Linked DNA regions of Homo sapiens: region 2 is linked to region 1. The links are contacts of gene promoters, found by promoter capture Hi-C in blood cells and fetal thymus (Javierre and others, 2016). All regions are on one chromosome and are shown on one strand. The core of a region is centred on a gene start or on the middle of the fragment in contact, and the rest is flanking DNA. Distances in the headings are between cores, read along the strand shown.

The links. The method cuts DNA at HindIII sites, captures the fragments that hold promoters and counts their contacts. A CHiCAGO score of 5 or more calls a contact.
Region 2: a contact is called between a fragment that was not itself captured here and the fragment with the promoter of PCARE in region 1, in 1 of 17 cell types (M2 macrophages). The highest score is 7.7, in M2 macrophages.

What each region holds. Positions count from the first base shown.
Region 1 is chr2:29,073,194-29,076,202 of GRCh38, reverse strand. It overlaps PCARE (photoreceptor cilium actin regulator), which reads left to right and starts at 1,680. Exons shown (of 2, transcript NM_001029883.3): 1 at 1,680-3,009. The coding sequence starts at 1,942. The HindIII fragment of the contact is 3,299 bases long and covers 748-3,009 here.
Region 2 is chr2:28,958,541-28,961,549 of GRCh38, reverse strand. It overlaps a transcript of TOGARAM2 not described here. Among named protein-coding and RNA genes, the nearest start is that of TOGARAM2, 21 kb to the left of the region's middle. The HindIII fragment of the contact is 1,687 bases long and covers 630-2,316 here.

The sequences.
Region 1 (3,009 bases), core at 431-2,930:
CAACCTAGATGCCCAAAAATAGGAAATGGTTAAATAAAAGCCCCTCTCCCTCCTGCAGACAGTGGGAATCATTGTGTTTGAGAGCCGAGAAATTAAACAATGAGGCCTTAGAAAAATCCTGAGGCAGCAGTGGATTGAGCACAGGGTGGGGGTGGGGGGCAAAAAGAACACCAGATTCAGAGGGCTCTAAGTGCATCATAGGCAATTATTTCCAGACCATTCAGGAATAAACCAACGCAAACCAATGAAATTCTTATGACTTTCATTATTATAAGTGCCCTAGCTTCCAGGGGGAAAGGAGTAAGAAACTTTTTTTTTTTTTTTTTTTTTGAAGACAGGGTCTCACTTCCAAAGTCCAGGCCAGCTTGCAATAGCACTATTACAGCTCACTGCAGTCTCAACTTCCTAGGCTCAGGTGATTCTCCCACCTCAGCCTCCGGAGTAGCTGGGATTACAGGTGGGTGCCAACATCCCCAGCTAATTTTTTGTATTTTTAGTAGAGACAGCCTCACCATGTTGCTCAGGCTGGTCTCAAACTCCTGAGCTCAAATGATAAGCCTGCCTCAACCTTCCAAAGTGCCGAGATTTATAGGCGTTGAGTCACCACACCTGGCTGAAACTGCATGTTTTTGAGTACCTACCTTGGGTCAAGCACTTACCAAGTATTAATTGACAATCCTCACAATGGCTCTGTGAGGTAAGTACCGTGGTCCTCATTTCAAAGATGAGCTCTGCCTCAGGAAAGCTTAAAAACTATCAGAAGTTTCCTCAACTAACAGGAGAAAGACTCAGGATTCAAACTCCAGTCTTTCTAGGCCAAGCTGTTGTTCTAGATTTTACTGACAGCAAATAAAGTTTAAAAGGAGGTTTTAAATGGGCAGCTGCTACCCTTAGCCACAGGCAGGAGCCCCATGCTCAGTTTGAGCAGAAAAATGGGCTTCCCCTTGAGTTCTCCTCTTAATAATGAAATGGCTCTCCACTGCCCAGTTTTTAGCTTGTTTTCCTATGAAGAAGTTTGAATAAGAAGCCTCTTCCCATGAAAGCATTGCCTTCCTGAGCGTAGTGACCAGCCTTGAGCTTTACATGGCAGTGACTTTTCCTGCTGTCCCCATCCAAACTGGGGGGGATAGCTTTCCTGCTACCTAACTCAATTTTCTAATGCAAAGGAAAAGCAACCTGCCTTCTTCATTCACTATCTTATTTAGAGACATTCTCTATACTAGAGTCCCGGGGTTTTTATAAGCCACACAAACAATAATGCATTACTTCAATTATTATCTATTGTGTGTTTTGGGGGCTTCTTGATAACAGCAGATTGGAGCACACTTGGCTGGTTTGCCCTTATTAAACCGTGAAGGTCACTTCTCTTCCAGGGCCTGTAATCAACGAGCCCTCTCTTCTCTTCCACAAATGCATCTCTTCCAGAGCCTTTGCAATTATGGCTCATTTCTCTAGGTTTCATATGGCAGGCGTCTGAACAGAATTAAAAGCATGAGCACGTGCAAAAATAATCCGCTTCCCAAGATAGTAAATGCTGAGAAGTTCTATATTAGAACACACTGTGAGTGCTGACTGGCTAGGGCATGATTAACCTAATAGGCTTAAGCTGCACTTGCTATCCACATCTGTCAGGACGCGAGCAAAACACAGGCCCGTAATCCACCAGGCTGGGAGCCTTCAGAATTGTCCCGCTGCTCACTAACAGCAGAGGGTTCCAAACTTAGAACAACAACAGGACGACAGGTACCACTCCCTCTTCACATTTGGACCAAGAAAATAAAGAAAGCTGGTTCCAAGTTTAGGATATTGTACCATGGACTTCAAAGAATTCTGGCCTGAAAATTGCCTGGATGGACTAGTAAGATTGCCTTTTGTTCCTATTTCAAATATGATTCTTGGAAAATTGTGAAGGTGGGTGGAAGATGACTACAAGCTGAAATCATGGGGTGTACACCTTCACACAGTGACCTTGTAAACAGCGTTGCAAAGAGTGGCATTCAGTTCTTGAAAAAGCCCAAAGCAATTCGGCCAGGATGTCAGGGCGGAAGTGAAAGAGGTTCCATCCCTTTGCTGGTTAAAAACTCCACCTGCTATGACGCTGGGGAGGGCCTGGCAGAGGAGCAGCCAAGTCCCAGGAGGAACCAAACCACAGCTAAAGGTCTTTGTCAGCTCATGGGAGATCCTGCTTCAGGCAAAAGGAAAGATATGGAAGGACTGATCCCAGGAACCAAAACCTCTTCATCCCAGCTGAACAAATCACAAAGCCACATGGCTAAGGATATTCCGTTCAAGACACAGGGTTCCCATGGATCACAAGGGGCAGACTTTTCTGGAGATGAGAGTGAGGAAAGTAGTACCCAAGATACTTCCAAATGGAAAAGGACAGCAAAATGTCACACGTCAAGCACACAGAGCCACTGCTACCAAACCATCCACCCTGCTCATGAGCCTGAAGGCAAAGTGGACTTCCCGGAGCCTCTGGTAAAGGCCCACCAGCAGGCTTACACCTATCTACACTCCAGCCTCTCCAAATATGAAGCAATTCTGTGCATCATCCATCAGGCCACCCAGACCCGGGAGCTGCTGCAGCCCATGGTCAGCTTCTTGCTGCTGTGCTTTGAGGAGATCAGCCAGCTGTTGGGGGAGATCTCCAAGGATGGAGAAGTGCTCCTGCAGGAAGTCAGGGAGGATCTGGCTTGGCCTTTGAAGAAAAGAGAGCCCCAGGAGCAGCCAAATCTCCTGCAACAGCTGCTACAGTACACAGTCAGCAAGCTGCAGGTGCTCAATGGCACAGTGGCCTCGCTCACCGGCAGCTTCCTGGAGGGCTCCAGCAGCTACCTCCACTCCACTGCAACCCACTTGGAAAATAAGCTGAGCACAAAAAGGAATGTGGATGAACGCCTCCTGAGGGCTCTGAGGCAGCTAGAGAGCCTGGCGAGTGGCTGTGGCGACCCTGGGGTGCAGGGTCTCCCCTTATGCTCTGAGGACAGTGGCATTGGTGCTGACAAT
Region 2 (3,009 bases), core at 224-2,723, 110 kb after region 1:
GGCCAACATGGTAAAACCCCATCTCTACTAAAATACAAAAATTAGCCGGGCATGGTGGCGGGCGCCTATAATCCCAGGTACTTGGGAGGCTGAGGTGGGAGAATCGCTTGAATCTAGGAGGCGGAGGTTGCTGTGAGCCGAGTTTGCGTTACTACACTCCAGCCTGGGTGGCAGAGTGAGAAAGATTCTGCCTCCAAAAAAATTAAAAATTAAATAATAAATTATACCTCAAAGCTTTTTTTAAACAAAAGCCTTTGTCTACTGCTCTGATGGCTGGGGCCAGTCTCTTGTCACTCTGGAAACTGAGGACACTTGGATTCTACCCAAGCCTCCAAGCAGTGGCATATCAGTCTCGGAGCTTCTAGCTGGTGATGTGCAGAGGGCCTCAGAGGACTCAGGACAGCAGGGTCAATTTTTTTGACCCTAGGCTGCTAACTCACTGACTAGAACTGAATCTGGTTCTCTTCAGTTTTGCACCAACTCTGCCAAGCCACTCTATCTTATACTAAACATCATACTCAAACCAAAAAAAAGAAAAAGAAAGACTTTGTCATTATCTTGCCTCTTGGTGTGTTCCGGTATGAAGTATACAGCATCACCTTTGATGTCTTGTCAAATCGAATCAAGCTTAAGACCTGTGCTGTTTCAGACCATAGCCACTAGCTACATGTGGCTATTTAAACGTAAATTAGTGAGAATGACATAAAATTAACAATTCTGTCACTCAGCCACATGGATACATGTTAGGTGCTCACTGGCCACCTGCGGTGAATGACTTCCATTTTGGACAGCACAGAGAACATTTCTGTCATCACAGAAAGTTGTACTGGGTAGTTCCGAGGTACAACTTCCAGATGATAGAAAATACAGAGGGTACAGGAATGAGTTAAACTCACTTAGGGAAATGATCTAATCCAGCATGTGGCTCATTCTGCAAGACAACTGGCCTGGTCTCCTCGGTGTGTGATTGTTACAGATAAAACTAAGGGGGCAAGAGGGTAAGAGACCGTTTTAGAGCAAAAGTAACTAAAGAAGACTTGACAAACAAACCCAGTGAGTGAGTGTGGATTGGATCCTGATTTGAAAAGAAACTGAATATTAACGTGCTGCTGCTACACTCCAGCCTGGGTGACAGAGTGAGCAAGATTCTGCCTCAAAAAAAATTAAAAATTAAATAATATTAAATAATTAGACAGGAGGATGGTATTAGGGGATTACGGTTTGGAGCTTCAGAGATATAAGAATGGTATTGTAGTTATTGCAGGAGTCATAATCTGTAGGCACGTCACCCTGAAGTAGTTAAGAATAAAGTGTGATGATGCCTTCAGTTTACTTTCTAGTAGATCAGCAAAAATAAATATATGCACACAAATACAGATGAAGAAAAATATAGCCAAATATAGTCATGGACTGCATAATGACATTTTGGTCAATGTTGGACCACATATACAACGGTGGTCCCATAAGATTATAATACAATAGCGTATTACTTGGCTTTTTCTATGTTTAGATACACACATCTCTCTGTGTTCCAACTGCCTACAGTACTCAGTCCAGGAACATGCTGTCCAGGTTTGTAGCCTAGAAACAATGTAGGCTACATAAGATAGCCCACATGTGTAGCGGGCTGTGCCGCCCAGGTTTATGTCAGTGCACTCTTTGATTCTCACAATGACACAATTTCACCTAACAACATCTTTCAGAACATATCCCCGTTGTTAAGGGTCATATGACTATATCAACAGTGTTTTACTTTAAGTGGCGTGTATATACAGATCATCATACTATTCTTTTTTTTCTTTTTTTTGAGCCAGAGTCTCACTCTGTCGCCCAGGCTGGAGTGCAGTGGCACGATCTCAGCTCACTGCAAGCTCCGCCTCCCAGGTTCACTGCCTCAGCCTCCTGAGTAGCTGGGACTACAGGCGCCCGCCACTACGCCCGGCTAATTTTTTGTATTTTTAGTAGAGATGGGGTTTCAGCATGTTAGCCAGGATGGTCATGATTTCCTGACCTTGTGATCCGCCCCCCTCGGCCTTCCAAAGTGCTGGGATTACAGGCATGAGCCACCGCACCCGGCCTATACTATTCTTTTAACTTTTCTGTATATTTGAAATTTTCCTAAGTTGGGAAAAGAAGTGAAAAACCATATTCTTCTCCCTCTTCCCCACTATCATTGACATATGTAAACTCCTGGATTTCATGGACAAAGTCTATGGGGAAATTGATGCAGTTGGTGTATGATGTGGTTAATTTCTTTCTTATTTTGGCTATTACTTCACTATTTAAGGACATGAGGGGGAAACATCAATTCAAGCTTCCTATGCTCAGCAACTGTGTCAGACTAAAGAGCTGCTGCAGCTTCTCTTGACAGCTGGGCACTTTTTCGGGTTAGCATCTGTAGCCCGGTGGGGAGTTTGGTCAGGTCCAGGGAGGGTACAGCCAGGCCAGGGAAACTGGAGGTGCAGCCACCACCTGGAGACTCGATCTCCTCCCATCAGGATTCCCTCCAGGCCCCTCTCATCACGCCTGCTGCTGGGCTACAGTCATTCAGGTTCCGCTTCAGGACTTGGACACCAGAAAAGAGCTGCAAGCACTTTGGAGATTCTCTCAGCCAATCCCAGAGGGCTGGCGCGCAGAAAGCTCACATCCCCACCCTCCACGGGAGTTTAGACAGGAGGCGGCCAGAACCAACTGCTCTCCCAGAAGGCTGGGATAAAAAGAAATTTGCACAAAGCAAGACTGGCACCTAGTGGATGCTTTTTATATTGACGTTTGTATTATACTTCTAACCAGAGAAAGTAACCTGGACAATCCCGACAAGCCTGGTGAAGATGAGAAAAAATACAATTGTAGCAACCTGGTCGTGCTTCCCCTGAATTCACCAAATCCAAGGAACAGCAAAAAGCCAATACACACGTGTGCACTCCAAAATCCAAAAATGGAATGTCAGCCCGCTGTAGTGGCTCACGCCTGTAATCCCAGCATTTGGGGAGGCCAAGGAGGGAGGAT